Linked DNA regions of Homo sapiens: region 2 is linked to region 1. The links are contacts of gene promoters, found by promoter capture Hi-C in blood cells and fetal thymus (Javierre and others, 2016). All regions are on one chromosome and are shown on one strand. Each heading gives the region's core, a stretch centred on a gene start or on the middle of the fragment in contact. The rest is flanking DNA. Distances are from core to core; before and after follow the strand shown.

Region 1 (3,319 bases), core at 446-2,945:
CAGTGAGCTCGGAGATCCCTTCACAGAATCATCGCTAGAATTCCGTGAGGCTTTGTTGAGGCCCAGCAGGCCTGTCTCAGTGGCAAGGGAGGCAGGTGGCTCCTGGAACGCAGGCAGCACTGGGCGGGTACCCGCACTGGGCATCCCATGTGCCCCACATCTCTGGCACATTAGCCCATGGCTCAGGTGGCACTGGCCCCGTGGCATAGGCGAGAGGGCAGGCTAGGGACTGCTCCTACCAGTGTGTCTTGGGCTCTGTGCCCACTACCTGGTGGGGAGAGGTGTCCACTTTGTCCACTTCATGGCATGGGAGCCGATGCGGCTTCAATCCTGACTCCGCAGCTGCCTCCTGACCAGTCAGCAATCGGGAGCCCCGACCTCTTCCCTCTCCATCCTCACTGCAGCCTGGGCAGGCCGGAGGCCAATGTCCCCAGGGCAGAGCTGGGACAGTCCCAGTGGGAAGGAGGCCTGGCCGGGCCAGACAGCAGCCTGGGAAGGAGCCGTGTGTTGCCTGGGAGTTCCACGGCACCGGCTGAACCTGCATCTTGAAGGTTTGATTGATTGCGTCGTTCAGAGTGAATATATTTTTTAATAATCGGTTTCCAAAATTAGTCTTTCTCTGTGTAGCAGCTATCACAAACAGCATGAGACGCACTCCTTTTATTTTTTTTTTACCTGCCAGAGGCAGATATTTGTTTTTCCTTCAAGAGAGCAGCAGGTGAAGGTGTGGTCCCCGGATCCCAGCACCTGGAAGCTGCGGTCTGGTCCTGCCTGCTTGGAGCCTGTGGGCCGAGAAAGACAGGGGCAGAGGCAGCCTGACCAAACCTCCTCTTGCTCCCACTCTCCGTGGCTTGCGGGCCAAGCGACATCAGCTCTGCACCCCTCGGTTTCCTTAGCCGATGGCGATGGTTTGATTACTTCATCACACTGTTTTGGGATTAAGACAGGACAAGCTTAGTGCACACATTATAGCTGCTCAGTGCCCATTCAGTAACTGGTAGCTTGGTCCTCCTACCTCGTGCCCTTGCGGTAGCTCTGGGAAGCCAACTCTGTCTCCATTTGACTGGTCCTACAGGTGCGGGTTTTAAACCCTACGTCACCCACATCTCCTTTTGGACATCACAAAACTCCTGAGGTGCCCAGCCCACTTACCCCCAAGTGCTCACCTTCTGTGAGCTCCTGAGCTTCTTCACCAGCTGAGATTTTTCCTTGTGGAGTTTTCTACTTCTGTTGTTTGTAATTCAAACTAATAAGTTCTTCCTGCATTTGAAAAATGAAAACATGGTGTAATATTGAATGTTGCTGTTCAAACTGCTCCCCACACCCAGCATTTTGCAATGTCCCCCAGGGGCACACACCCTTGATGCTTGACTGAAAAACTACCATACCAGTGACTGTCTGTATCTCATTGGCCTGAGAAATTAAAAGCTGCTACTGTGTTACATTAAGTGTCTGCTGTACGCACCGCCCTGGGCTGGGCCAGTCCTGGGGGATAAAGAACAGTATCAGAAAGATACTCAGACAGAGCTGTCTCTGTGGTGGAGGAGATGAGAGCTAAGAGAAGTGAAAATGCAGAGCCGAGGCCAGGCCATCCCGCAGTGTCCACTGGTGCAGGGGTGGGCTGCGGGTCGCGAGCCACGGGAGCTTGCAAAAGGGAAGGGCATGGCTTGAAGTCAGCTTCCCGGAAGAGGAAGAGGCGGTCCTTGGCTGATGGCAGAATTTGCATGGGCTGATAGGAAGGGACGGCTTCAAGGTTGAGTTGGCTAACAACTCGAGCCAAGGCCCAGAGGTGGGGATGAGTTTGCTGCCAAAGGGGACGGCTGGCAGGAAGCTACTCAGTGTGCTTGTTCGTCTCGCTCATTAATTGGGCACAAAGAGCAGCAAATCCCATCCCCATCCCGAGGCCCTGCAGCATGGTAGGATCATGCCCACTTCTCCCTGCTCTTAGACCAACGTGGGTTCTGCCTCCCCTGCCCAAAGCGTAGGCGCAGACTCTGGGTGGAATCAAGGTGCAAAGGAGGCCTCGATTCCGGCGGTTTCAGAGGGCTGCTCCCTGCGTAAGTCATCCACCCATCCTCTTGTTACCCCACCTCTGGCTTCTGGGGGCCCCAGGACTTCCCCAGCGCTGTCCTCAGCCCTGAAACCTCCATGGGGTTTCCATGGAGAAGTGCTGACAATTTTGTTTCTACTCTCCCAGTTCTTCCTGAAATTCATCTGCATCAAAGTGAGATCCCTTATGCTCAGCGCTCAGCAAGGCTGTGGTGATTAAGCACTTAAATTGATTAATCAAATTTCCTGTGATGAGAACTACTGTCATTCATTAATCTGAGCGGGATTATAAATAAGAGATGGCAGATACAGGAGACAACCGTGTTGACAGATGGACACGGTGGCCTGAATCACAAGTAGGTGCCTGCTTCCTGGGGGCTTTCGCTGTGGGCAGCTGGGGACGGAGCTTCCCTAAAGACAAAATTATTCGGAGATTGAAGTATCCCCATTTTAATAACGAAATATGCATAGATGAGCAGGCAGCCGGTACAGGGAGCACGTAGGTTCGCATACCAATGGCCCGGTTGTATTCATGGAGGTGGTAGCAGCAGCTCCAAGAGATAAAGAATCTGCTAGAAAAAGAGGCCAAAGCAAAGTGGCACACGGGTTGAGAATATGGGTTTGAGGGTCAGAGCAGCCCTGGGTGCAAATCCTGCCTCCATGGTTTACTCAACGCGTGACTTGGCTGAGGTTCTCAATCTCCCAGAGCCTCCATTCCCTCACTGGCAAAATGCGGATGCTGATAATCCTGATTCCACTGGGTTGTTGTTAAGAGTAAATGAGACAATATCTATGAGGCACTTTTTATCTAGTTTACAAACATTTATTGAGCACCTACTGTATGTCAGTACTGTGCTGGTATTTAGAGATTGGCAAGGAATAAAGCAAGCATGGTCCCTGCCCCCAGAGCTGGTGTTCTTATGGAGAAGGCAGACACTGAGACTCAAGGGCTATGACACAGTGCTACTGCCCTGGCCTTCCCAGATGCCACATTCTCTGTTGACCTCCTGGACTCAGGATGTCCTTTCCATCCCTGTCTTTGAACACTTCTTCCTGCCTGTGGTCTCTCCTTGCCCCTGCGCAGATCCTCCTCCTGACTTCTTGGCCTCATTCACTCCAACAGAACTGTCCCTCCCAGCTCAAGTATACTGTGTCTCTACCCAAGTCAAAGCCCTGGATGACGGCTGCAAAGCATAAGGCTTCGGGTTCCCAGCTCAGTCACACATAAGCTTCATACCCTAGACGTGTATGATGATCTGCATGAAGTCCA
Region 2 (3,319 bases), core at 346-2,845, 110 kb after region 1:
CAGGATTTCCAATTTTTTTTTTCTCTTCAACTTTTAAGTTCCAGGATACATGTTAGGATGTACCCTGGATGTGCAGGTTTGTTACATAGGTAGACATGTGCCATGGTGGCTTGCTACACAGATCAACCCATCATTTAGCTATTAAGCCCAGCATCCATTAGCTATTCTTTCTGATGCTCTCCCTCCCCACCCCCACCACCAGGCCCCAGTGTGTGTTGTCCCCCCGGACATGTCCATGTGTTCTCATTGTTCAGCTCCCACTTACAAGTGAAAACATGTGGTGTTTGGTTTTCTTTTCTTTTCTTTTTTTTTTTTTTTTGAGACGGAGTCTCGCTCTGTCGCCCAGGCTGGAGTGCAGTGGCTCAATCTCAGCTCACTGCAAGCTCCACCTCCCGGGTTCACACCAGTCTCCTGCCTCAGTCTCCCGAGTAGCTGGGACTACAGGCACCTGCCACCACGCCTGGCTAAATTTTTGTATTTTTTAGTAGAGACAGGGTTTCACCGTGTTAGCCAGGATAGTCTCGATCTCCTGACCTCGTGATCCACCCACCTCAGCCTCCCAAAGTGCTGGGATTACAGGCGTGAGCCACTGCGCCCGGCCTGGTTTTCTATTCCTGGATTAGTTTGCTGAGGATAACAGCTTCCAGTTCTATCCATGTCCCTGCAAAGTACATGTTCTCATTCCTTTTTATGGCTGTATAGTATTCAATGGTGTATATGTACCACATTTTTAAAATCCAGTTTATCATTGATGGGCATTTGGGTTAATTCTGTGTCTTTGCTATTGTGAATAGTGCTGCAATGAACATACACATGCATGTATCTTTATAACAAAATGATTTCTATTCCTTTGGGTATATAACCAGTAATGGGATTGCTGGGTCAAATGGTATTTCCACTTCTAGATCTTTGAAGAATTGCCCCACTGTCTTCCAAAATAGCCGAACTAATTTACATTCCCACCAACAGTGTAACAGCGTTTCTTCTTGTCTGCAACATCGCCAGCATCTGTTGTTTTTTAACTTTTTAATGATCACCATTCCGACTGGCATGAGATGGTATCTCATTGTGGTTTTGATTTGCATTTCCCTAATGATCAGTGACGTTGAGCACTTTTTCATATGCTTGTTGGCTGGACGAACGTCTTATTTTGAAAAGTGTCTGTTGATGCAGGATTTCCATTTTACTCATGACTGGTGATGTTCACCTTGACCACTTAATTCAGGTGGTGTCTGCAAGGCTTCTCCACTGTAAGCTTACTCATTTTCTGTTTGTAGTTAATAAATATTTTGTGAGAAAGTACTTTCATAGTATATGCAAGTATTCCCCATCAGACTTTCAGTTTTTATTCATTTGTTTATGTATAACCTTATTTTATTCAATGGATTATAATCTATTACCATTGTTATTTATTTCAGTGTTCATGTTGTCTCAGATTTGGTTGGTGGACCTCCATTCAAGCTGGTTTCTGGGTCATTTGATATAAGCCCAATCATTCTTTGAGCACTTCCTTGCTTTCTGAACAAGATGTTCCAGGCATATCTTGTACTTTCCTGAAATCAACCATTTCTCCAAAGAAACCTGGTTTCTTTTAGTGGAAAGTGGTGTTTAGAAGCCAAGATCTGGGCCTGAGTATGCTCACTGCTCCCAGGCCTCTCTCAGTAGATAGAGCTGGGGAATATATGTATCATATGCACACACACACACACACACACACACACACACACACACACACAGAGTTGGCCTTCCACATTCATGAGTTTCGCATCCGTGGATTCAACCAACAACGGGCCAAAAATATCCAGGAAAAAAATTGCATTTGTACCAAACATATTTTTTTCTTATGATTATTCCCTAAATAAAACAGTATAAGAAATATTTACATAGCATTTACATTGTTACTAGGTATTATAAGTAATCTAAAGATGATTTAAATCAAGCTTGTCCAACCCATGGCTTGTGGGCTGCCTGTGGCCCAGGACAGCTTTGAATGTGGCCCAACACAAATTCATAAACTTTCCTAAAACATTATGAGACTTTTTTGCAATTTTTTTTTTTTTTAGCTCATCAGCTACCGTTAGTGTTAGTATATTTATGTGTGGCCTAAGAGAATTATTCTTCCAACATAATCTCCCTGTACACAACCAGTCTCACATCTCTGCCACCCCATGTGGGCCCCCTCCAAACCCAGACTCTGACACCCCTTGCAAGGGCACTCCACTGTGTGGACCCCCCACTCACCCGTCAATATGCCCTTATGCTGTTGTAAGGAGGATTCTGAAGCCATCTCCAGGCTCAGGGGAAACAGTGACGTGATTGATTAGTAATGTCTGCCATGAACAGAGGGACAGGAAGGGTTCCTGCCACACATATGCTGGCCCCGACTTAAGATGGTCAGTGTGAGCATTTATATTGATCAGGTGACCATATCGTTTTGAGAGAGAAATAAGAATTAACAATTGCAAACAATAAAAGTTGACAGTTATGCTGGGCAACAGGCATTAACCAGGTCACTGGTCATGCCCTGTATGGGTACTGAGGAAGCACAGTTCTGGGTCTGCTCTGTGGTTTTCGACCCTCTGTGTTGGGCACATGTCTACAGTTTCCAGCAGCTCCTTTGCCACCTCCCCCAACTCCTTGCCCTCTTCTGTAGACTGTGGGAGGGTCTGGCAAGCCTCCTTAAGGAGGAAGATTCCCATGCAGGGTGCGCCTTAGGAATGGAGGTGCCCATGGAGGGCACCCCTTAAGGGTGGAGGTGCCCGTGCAGGGTGCCCCTTAGGAGTGGAGGTGCTGGTGGAGGGTGCCCCCTTAGGAGTGGAGGTGCTGGTGGAGGGTGCCCCTTTAGGGGTGGAGGTGCTGGTGGAGGGTGCCCCCTTAGGGGTGGAGGTGCCCGTGCAGGGTGCCCCTTAGGGGTGGAGGTGCTGGTGTAGGGTGTCCCCTTAGGGGTGGAGATGCCCATGGAAGGTATCCCCTTAGGGGTGGAGGTGCTGGTGGAGGGTGCCCCCTTAGGGGTGGAGATGCCCATGGAAGGTGCCCCCTTAGGGGTGGAGGTGCCCATGGAGGGTGCCTCCTTAGGGGTGGAGGTGCCCTTGCAGGGTTCCTCTTAGAGGTGGAGATGCCCATGGAGGTGTCCCTTAGGGGCGGAGGTGCTGGTGGAGGGCACCCCTTAGGGGTGGAGGTGCCCGTGGAGGGTGCCCCCTTAGGGGTGGAGGTGCTGGTGGAGGGTGCCCCCTTAGGGGTGGAAGTGCCCATGCAGGGTGCCCCTTAGGAGTGGAAGTGCTGGTGTAGGGTGTCCCCTTAGGGGTGGAGATGCCCATGG

The links. The method cuts DNA at HindIII sites, captures the fragments that hold promoters and counts their contacts. A CHiCAGO score of 5 or more calls a contact.
Region 2: a contact is called between a fragment that was not itself captured here and the fragment with the promoter of CAMTA1-AS1 in region 1, in 2 of 17 cell types (M2 macrophages and M1 macrophages). The highest score is 7.7, in M2 macrophages.

Annotation. Positions count from the first base shown.
Region 1 is chr1:7,439,922-7,443,240 of GRCh38, forward strand. It overlaps CAMTA1-AS1 (CAMTA1 antisense RNA 1), which reads right to left and starts at 1,696. Exons shown (of 2, transcript NR_187278.1): 1 at 1,167-1,696; 2 at 646-927. The region is part of intron 5 of CAMTA1 (calmodulin binding transcription activator 1); the gene reads left to right. The HindIII fragment of the contact is 2,325 bases long and covers 952-3,276 here.
Region 2 is chr1:7,545,655-7,548,973 of GRCh38, forward strand. All of the region lies in intron 6 of CAMTA1 (calmodulin binding transcription activator 1), which reads left to right. Among named protein-coding and RNA genes, the nearest start is that of CAMTA1-AS1, 110 kb to the left of the region's middle. The HindIII fragment of the contact is 685 bases long and covers 1,254-1,938 here.